Linked DNA regions of Homo sapiens: all the other regions are linked to region 2. The links are contacts of gene promoters, found by promoter capture Hi-C in human tissues and cell types (Jung and others, 2019). All regions are on one chromosome and are shown on one strand. The core of a region is centred on a gene start or on the middle of the fragment in contact, and the rest is flanking DNA. Distances in the headings are between cores, read along the strand shown.

The links. Contacts are between HindIII fragments. The study calls those that stand out against the background at their distance.
Region 1: a fragment that was not itself captured here is called in contact with the fragment with the promoter of HMGA2 in region 2 in 2 of the 25 tissues and cell types used here (neural progenitor cells and pancreas).
Region 3: a fragment that was not itself captured here is called in contact with the fragment with the promoter of HMGA2 in region 2 in 4 of the 25 tissues and cell types used here (IMR-90 fibroblasts, aorta, mesenchymal stem cells and 1 more).

What each region holds. Positions count from the first base shown.
Region 1 is chr12:65,891,360-65,894,221 of GRCh38, forward strand. All of the region lies in intron 3 of HMGA2 (high mobility group AT-hook 2), which reads left to right. Among named protein-coding and RNA genes, the nearest start is that of HMGA2-AS1, 10 kb to the left of the region's middle. RefSeq lists enhancers at 117-1,029, 670-964. The HindIII fragment of the contact is 4,443 bases long and covers 1-2,862 here.
Region 2 is chr12:65,822,965-65,826,215 of GRCh38, forward strand. HMGA2 (high mobility group AT-hook 2) reads left to right here and starts at 1,519. Exons shown (of 5, transcript NM_003483.6): 1 at 1,519-2,417. The coding sequence starts at 2,307. It also overlaps the pseudogene RPSAP52. RefSeq lists an enhancer at 2,639-3,246. The HindIII fragment of the contact is 9,780 bases long and covers 1-3,251 here.
Region 3 is chr12:65,726,475-65,729,401 of GRCh38, forward strand. No RefSeq gene overlaps it. Among named protein-coding and RNA genes, the nearest start is that of MSRB3-AS1, 86 kb to the left of the region's middle. The HindIII fragment of the contact is 9,120 bases long and covers 1-2,927 here.

The sequences.
Region 1 (2,862 bases), core at 296-2,795, 68 kb after region 2:
AAACTTTGAGTGGTTCCATCAGTAGTGATTCATGATGTTGAACTACAATAATATTTTCCTCCACACACTCTCCCAGTTCCCATTGTGACACTGGAGCAGCATTTAGGGAAGACAGTTAGGCTTGGGGGTGCGTTCTGTGGTCATGGCTGTGGAAGATTGGTCCTACGGCTGTTAATCTGGCTGACAAATGTTTCATCAACATGCATTGTTGAAAGTGACATGATGCACAGTGCTGGTTAAGAGTCGCGTAAATAATAAAATGCCCAAGATGGGAGAAGAGCAGTTTTCCTGGCTTCTCCAAGTTTGAGCTGCAGAATCAGAAGCAGTAGAATAGAGAGAGAAGAGACAGGACACTAGCTTGGGTTCCAGCCCCAACTCTGCTGCCCTGTGCTGCGTGGCTGCAGCAAGTGACTTATCTAATAACTGTGGGTCTCAGTTTCCTCACTCATAGTATTAATGATCATTTCTCAGGAGTATTAAATAAGAGCATGAGTTTAAAGAGCCCAGTCCCGTGCCCAGCACAACGGAGGCTACCCTCCAAAGGTCAGTCCCTTTTTCTGTGTGTTTCATCCTCTCTTGGCAGCCTGTTTGCTGCATCTCTCAGCTGACTTTTGTCCCTTCCTGCTCACTTAGTCAATTCAGAGATTACAGTTTGTACAATAATGCGCTGCCTTGTCTTCTCGCTGGTGAATCTGGACCGGAGTGCTCTGCCTCTGCGCCGACACTCACTCTGATGGTCTTGGCTGGAGGACAGAGGCTGCTGGCAAAAACCTAAGAGGGAACATACCGTGGTAGCAGCATGAAAGAATTTGGCAAGGAGGTGCTCGTCACATGATTGTGATTCATACTGTACTCTCAAAATGTGGCAGGAGGGCTAGGAGAGACTTTTAATGCCAGCACACAGAGCAGAGACACTCATTTTCAAACATCACATTCTTTTTATAGTACAGGCATGCCTCACAGGGAAAATATTGAACTTGGCCTGCCAGCACCACGAGAGTCGTCCCAACTGTGATTTTATTGCTTGAGTCACTCCCTGAATCAGATACTGGCTGCACGGAGGAAGTCTTCTATTAGGGATGCTTTGAAATTGTGTTTTTAATTAATTAACACCAACTCTGGACAGGTTTTTCATTTACTCCTAGCTGACTCTTTTTTGTCTTTTCTTTTTTTGCCTGAAACTTGTTAGACATTTTTGTAAGGTCTCAGTTGGATCGCTTTTAAGTATCCTGGTGAAAGAGTCATCTGTGTTGGGTGACCAAAGCGAGGGGACCCTTCAAAGTAGAGTTTGTCATCTCCGAGAGAATCTGATCCATGGGAATGGGGTCGTCAGGAAAACGGTCCCTAAAAGTCTGGCATAGCACTTTTTGATGCCTTCAGCCGTCCTCAATCCATTCATCCTGTTGTTAAAACTTAAAACTAGAGCTGGCCAGCTGTTGAGAAAAGTCCTCAGTTTTATTTCAACCAAATGATGCTGCCTCCTGGGGCTGGAAGGGGGCTGACTTCAAGCACAATTATAAATGTGTAGCTCTTTCAAGCGGCGGAAACCTACAAAATGGCCTTGATTCACAGGGCCCCTCTGGCTCAAAGACTCTCTGCTTCCCGTGTGTCATAAATCTGTATCTGCATCAAAAAGTGTAAAGACGGCAGTGTATGGAAGTCCCTCTTCCTCTGCGAGTGTGTCTATGACAGATTTATACTGATGGCTACACTGCACCCCGGTCACAGGCTCCTATTATAGTCATGCCCCACTGACTCAGCCCCCATTTCCTGTGGAAGGGGAGACAAGGTCCTGCATGAAGGAGGGTGAAATTACAGCTCAACTCTCGAATTGCTGTTAGTACAGGAGGACCTTTAAGGGCTGCAGCAAGACCCATTTTGTTCATAGCAACATCTACTGTCTCCTCACCCCAGTGTGGTCACAGCTAAAACCTAAGGCATTTAGTTTCATGACAAGATATGCCATGACAGGGTACTCCAGAATTCAACAAGGCCAAATGGATACATGCGAAAAGAACAAACCACCTCATTTGTTATAATTTTTGTTTCTTCAAAGTGGTTTTCTTTTTCTTCCTGAGGGTACAAGTTTCAAATGTGGAAATTTTTTAAGGTAGCATTTGAATCCACCTCTCTATTAGTATTTGCAAATGGATGCAGAACAGGACTGGTTTTTGAAACCACCTCCTTGTTAGAGATTTTTCATCCTTTGCAAACATTGTAGGGTTTCAGAGGTAGCGGCTGGTGAGAACCCTCTTGTGTTTGACTGCAGCCTTCGAGGTTTAGAGCTGTCCTGCATTTCAGGGGGTGAATGGCTACTGGTAAAGAGGTCAAAATGAGCTTTATTCCAAGAGTTAAGCAATGAAGTTGCAAAGTTTAATTGGTGTAATTTTGGGAGATAAGGATGGAAAGGGAAGGATGTTAGGATAGTTTGAATCCTCTAAGAGGAGAAAAGGCAAAACTGATATTTGACTTTCCCACTGTATTTAGAGTATAGCCTTCATGGGGTAGCTGTTTCTTCTTGTGTTTGGTATGGCTCAGAGCACTTGAAAATGTCACTGGCTGAAGAAGAGTGCTTGTGATGATATTTTTTAATTCACTTTTTTTGTAGACTTTAGTACTATAAAGAAATGATACATAGAGGGGAGTAAAAACTTGTCTAGCTAACAATTGGTATTATAATGGTTTTGAATGCACAGTTCTGATTAAATTTTATACATTTCTTCCGTTGGCCAACTTATCGTGAGCCTGGTTGTATGCCTCTGGTGTTTGTATGATATTCACTGCATTTTTTTCTAACGTGTTAAGGATTCTATTTTAAATAGAAAATCAGATTGCAGTTTGAAAAACTTAGTTTTAAAACTC
Region 2 (3,251 bases), core at 269-2,768:
CTCCATTACAGCTAAGCGTTCCCAGACCCAGCAGAAACCCTGGGTTCCTGCAGAGCACTCAACGTGCAGCAAAGTGTCCCAGCTCTGCAAAGGGCAGCTGGAAATGGATTTAAAATGGCAACGCGGACCAATCAGCGCTGCCGCGCCAAAGCAGACATTTACACGCGCCTCCTCCACATGCACAGCGGAACCTGGCGGTGCCTAACTCCTGCTTAGGGCTGCAAAGTAGGCGTTTTTATTCCACGGTGGTCTGTATCTTTGAAAAAAATAAATTCTTCCCCAGGTGAAAGTTTTTATTTTGGAATTAGTCCAAAATAATTTTGGGTGTGATGTGTGAAAATCTGAACCTAATTTTTTCAGAGTTTTGTGTTATTCAAGGATGAAAAGAGGTACATTTAAAAATGTACTCCACCTTTTAAAAACGGACTGTGGCCATTATGGTGTTCACATAACTCAGAACAGCCCAGGCCATAAAATTAGGACTTGGCAGAAAGAGAGTTCTCAGGCAGAAGGTTAAATCGAGGTAAACTGAAGGGAGAGTTGGGCAGTGAGTGCAATTGTGGTGTTAGGAATCTACAAGGTGCCCTTTACCCTGGGAACATCGGATTCCCGGGGAGGGGGATGGGGAGGGAACTTCGGTTGCCTCTAGTCTTTCCTGGAGAAAAAAGTTCAATGAAGAAGCTGGGGCGCTCTGTGTGTGCACATTGTTTGCATGTGTCTGCGAATGTGCATGTCTATCTGCGTGCCTGTGTGTATGTGTGTGTGTGTAAATGCGGGTGTTTACCAGCGCATGAATGCCCCCGTGTCCACGTGTATCTGCGTGCATGTGCTTACACGCGTGTTCGTGTGTATCTGCATGCATGTCTCCGTGTATGTGCGCGCTCGCCCGCCCGCAGGCTCTGTGGTGAGGGCATTCCGAGGCGGAGTACGGCTGTCAGGGGACCTCTCCCACTCCACTGCAGTCCCTTCCCACTCACAGTGAACCGGTGCGCTGCCTGAGGTGCAGCCTAGACGCTTCCTGCAAAGTGTTGGCTCGGCACGGTAGAGGCGCAGGTAAAGGCCAAGCCCCGAAACGTGGCTCCGGGACAGTCACGTTCCCGCGCCTTCCCAGGACAACTGCCCAGGGGTGACCTCGAGAGGCGGGTGGAGCTAGGCCCACGGCGAGCCAGCCCGGGATCCCCGGCCTGTCCCTTTAACCCCGCCGCCGGGCGGGAGCACGTGAGCGGGGCTCCGGGTGGCACCCGGGCGCCGCCGCCGCCGAGGCAGTTGTATTTCGAACGCTGCCTCTGGCTAGCAGCCAGGCGCCTTGGCTCGGCGGTCCGCCTGGCCTCCCTCCTCCTCATACTTTTCTTCCTGCGCAACCCCCTCCCCTTTATCCGCCCACGATTAGAGGTGGGCACTCCCCCCACCACCACCCCCTCCCCAAGCGCAAGCGCGTGCACGCACACACACCACACACACTCACACTCACACACACTCACACACACTCATCCCACTTGAATCTTGGGGCAGGAACTCAGAAAACTTCCAGCCCGGGCAGCGCGCGCTTGGTGCAAGACTCAGGAGCTAGCAGCCCGTCCCCCTCCGACTCTCCGGTGCCGCCGCTGCCTGCTCCCGCCACCCTAGGAGGCGCGGTGCCACCCACTACTCTGTCCTCTGCCTGTGCTCCGTGCCCGACCCTATCCCGGCGGAGTCTCCCCATCCTCCTTTGCTTTCCGACTGCCCAAGGCACTTTCAATCTCAATCTCTTCTCTCTCTCTCTCTCTCTCTCTCTCTCTCTCTCTCTCTCTCTCTCTCTCTCTCTCGCAGGGTGGGGGGAAGAGGAGGAGGAATTCTTTCCCCGCCTAACATTTCAAGGGACACAATTCACTCCAAGTCTCTTCCCTTTCCAAGCCGCTTCCGAAGTGCTCCCGGTGCCCGCAACTCCTGATCCCAACCCGCGAGAGGAGCCTCTGCGACCTCAAAGCCTCTCTTCCTTCTCCCTCGCTTCCCTCCTCCTCTTGCTACCTCCACCTCCACCGCCACCTCCACCTCCGGCACCCACCCACCGCCGCCGCCGCCACCGGCAGCGCCTCCTCCTCTCCTCCTCCTCCTCCCCTCTTCTCTTTTTGGCAGCCGCTGGACGTCCGGTGTTGATGGTGGCAGCGGCGGCAGCCTAAGCAACAGCAGCCCTCGCAGCCCGCCAGCTCGCGCTCGCCCCGCCGGCGTCCCCAGCCCTATCACCTCATCTCCCGAAAGGTGCTGGGCAGCTCCGGGGCGGTCGAGGCGAAGCGGCTGCAGCGGCGGTAGCGGCGGCGGGAGGCAGGATGAGCGCACGCGGTGAGGGCGCGGGGCAGCCGTCCACTTCAGCCCAGGGACAACCTGCCGCCCCAGCGCCTCAGAAGAGAGGACGCGGCCGCCCCAGGAAGCAGCAGCAAGTCAGTACGAGGGCGCGGTGGGGGCACCAGCCCACCCCGTCCCCACTGCCGGGGCCCAGACACGCGCGGGGCGGCCGGAGTGCGGGAGCCCAGTCGCCGCGGCCGTCGCACACTGCCCGCCGGCCGGCCGGGGGGAGCGGCGCAGACCCCACGAGTGCGCCGCGCGGCCCCGGGGCGCCAGCAACCCTCCGGGCGGGGAGGTGGGGAGCCGCGGCGGGCGGCCCGGGGAAGGCGGGAGGTGGGGTCGGGCGAAGCGCGTCCTCGGACTTTCGCTATTGTGCACGGCCCCGAGTGGCGCGGTGTCGCCCAGTGACTGGAAGCGACCGGGATCCGACAAACCCGGGCTCGCAGGCGCTTTCCGAGTTGCTTTTGCAACTGCCCGGGAGGAAGGAGGTGCCGGGGACCCGGGCGCTTCGGCCGATCTGGGCTGAAGGGGCTAGAGTCTTGGGGGCCGGAGGCTCTTTCTCCCGCCTCCCGGGGCTGCTCGCGGGTCGGGGGCTGGCGCGCCGCAGCCGCCCCCTTGGCGCCCTCCTCCAAGCTCTCGGTGGCCCAAGACTCGCGCCCTCCCGACAAAGAACGCATGGAGACCCGGCTGCCTGGTCCTTTTTGGGCTCTTTAAATATGCGGCGGCCGCCGGAGGGAGCCCGGGGCAGGGGCTACGGGGAGCCTGGTTCCCCGCAGGACGGGGTTAACTCGCCCAGCTAAGGGCGCGTTGAAAGGAGTGTCCAAGAGAGTGCAGGGTAGCCAGGGTCGCTTCCTTGTCAGGGGCCCGGTCCCCCTTTTGCCCCTGGATCTCGCGCCTCAGAGCTGCAGCCATTAAATGCTCTTCTCCAA
Region 3 (2,927 bases), core at 325-2,824, 96 kb before region 2:
TTATGATGCAGGAATTATTATAACCATTGAAAAAAATGAGGTTCAGAGAGTTTATGTCGTCAGCCCAAACTAGTAGATGGCTATTTTTTTAAACCTCAAATAAATTGTAGAAATACAGAAGAAAAACAAACAAACAAACAAACAAAAAAGAATCTACTACCAAAAACAATATCCTAATGGAATACAACTGCATATTTTTTATTTCCATGCAGAACTTCACAATAAACAACCAGAAGGATCTCAGATCCAGTTTTCTTGGCCAGTTGGTCTAGAATATTCTAAACATTAAGGTAAATTAAGCAAGTAGTTGAGGTACAGTTTTGTAAGCATGCTTTGCTTAGTGACTTGTTATAATTCAATAACTTTATAATCAAGAAAGTCTTCAGGGTCTAATGTCAGTTTCTCCCAATGCTATTAAAGTCTCCTTTCTTCTTATTAAATCTTTCAGCATGTCCCAACTCCAGGGCTCTAAGGATAACCCTTAAATAACCGAATATGATTGCTAGTAACTTGAATCTTTTCTTTCAGGGTCATAATCTTAAATCCTTTCATATTTTCAATTGATGTAACTTAAATTTCTAATCCTGGTGATGCTTTTCTCTGAAATACCTCAAATTCTCATATTGAGGCCGGGCATGGTGGCTCATGCCTGTAATTCCAGCACTTTCGGAGGCCGAGGTGGCCAGATCACAAGGTCAGGAGTTCCAGACCAGCCTGATCAACATAGTGAAACTCTGCCTCTACTAAAAATACAAAAAATTAGTCAAGTGTGGTGGCGGGTGCCTGTGATCCCAGCTACTTGGGAGGTGGAGACAGGAGAATGGCTTGAACCCGGGAGGTGGAGGTTGCAGTGAGCCGAGATCAAGCCATCACACTCCAGTCTGGGCAACAGTGTGAGACTCCATCTTAAAAAAAAAAAAAGAAAAGAAAAGAAAAAGAAAAAAAATCTGTGCCACAGTTAGTATCTTCTATGCTATTAATACTACACGTGCCCTCCCCCAAAACACTACTTATTTGGTGATCTTTCTGAATTTTCTTACTTCTCTTACTAGAAGACATAATTTTAGTTAAATTGGCACTCAGAGAATGATATGATGGTATAGGTGGTACTGCTTGAACACTTACTTCCTCTGTGTTGTAGGAAATTTTAATGATTTTACTCATTAAAGTACTTTTTTTATTTATTTTACTCAATAAAGTACTATTGTACTTTATTTTTTATAGGAAAAATACGTGATTTATTGATGTACTTATGTTGTTCTTTATAAACTAAAATTCTTTCAGTTTCTTCCTTTTTCTTTTCCAATTCTCCACCTCTCCTCCCAGTACACCTCACCCTATAGGTAAGATTCCAGTTTCCAGGAGAAGGGATAAAGCCAGCTAAATTAAATTTCACCTTTCACCTATTTCTGCTGTGATCTATAACACCCCACTTAAGGTATTCAAGATTTTTCATTAGCTAAAATATTTTCTTGTTTAGGAAGCTTTAGTAGAAATATAAAGAATTGAGTTTCTGTTTTTCCTTTTATCAACAAAATACCTATTAATCATTTTGATTGTATATGCACATGGCTCTATTAAAACTAGAAAGCATAATTACATAAAATTAAGTAAAATGTACCATACCTTTTTGATAAAATGAAAAATAAATTACATTTATCTTTTCTTTGCTAAATAAAATGTATTTTTGTAAGTTTTGACTACATTTGACAACACTTAAATGAGTAAGTTTTGACTAATGATTATATCCCTTGTATTTTCTCTTAATAATAATTTAAATTGTTTTTAATTAGCTGGGGCACGTGCAGTTTAAATTTTCTAATAGTCTAGGGATAGAACAACTCTTAACATATTTTTAAACATCGATAGTGTCAGTTTTCAAACCTGGATGTTATTCAAGTCCACTTCATGTTAACATATTTTTCTCTGTGGATAACAAATACAACAGAAAAATTTTGCCAGTGTAAATAGCCAATGGAATTATGAATAATCATGTTAATAATGTTAATAAAAAGGTACAGTTAAATGAGGGAGACAATTAGTTCACACCATTTTGGTTTATTTATTTAGCAGTGAGCATTGTATAACATGTCAATCCCGGGAAAAAGAAACAGACATAAAGGGGCTTAACATTACTAATAAAACAATCAGTATCAAAATATTTTATGTAACAATTTGTCCGTGTTCATATAATAATCTGTCAACTCTGTGATTTGCTTATTATGTGAATTAACTCCATAATCGCTCTGAGATTGAATTCAGTGACACCGTTTAACTGCTTCTGGTTTGGGGGCTTTTACTCGATATTTTTAGGTAAGGAGCTGTCAGGCTAATCTGAGGACATTTAGGGAAAGCCAATAAACTGTCACGAACTTAAAACAAGTGAGGTTTCTCGTGGTTTGGTCGAAATTTTAACACTTCTCCTCTCCTACCCTTCACCTCTTCTCCTCAAAACACTTTTTTTTCTTTTACAATAACTGTAAATGCCAGCTCTAAATTTCCCTCCAATCTGGGAAAGTCCAATCTCCCTTCCTCGAGAGGTGTCTGGGCGCAATACTCTCCGGCCCGAAGCAAGGGGACGTTTGCGAGGAGGGAGAAATTTAAACCCCCTTCGCTCCGCGCCACCTGGGAGCACTTTGGCGCCGCAGACTCAGGAGCCGACGCCATCTCCAGGACGGCCTCGGTGGCCTCGGCAGGAGGCACCTTCGGGGAGCGGTCCCGCACTCCTCCTTCCTCAGTCCCCGGTCCTCTGCACCGCTCCCTCTCTGCTGCCAGAGGACCTGTCCGCGAGCTCCCCGCGCTGCCCTGGGGACGGAAAAGTTTGTTTCTCCAACGCGCAACTTTCCCGCTCCAGGCGGCGGGGACCCCGAGCCGGAGTTTTGGCCAAAAAATCCCAGAGTCCTATACCTCCTGCGCGCCCAGACCTC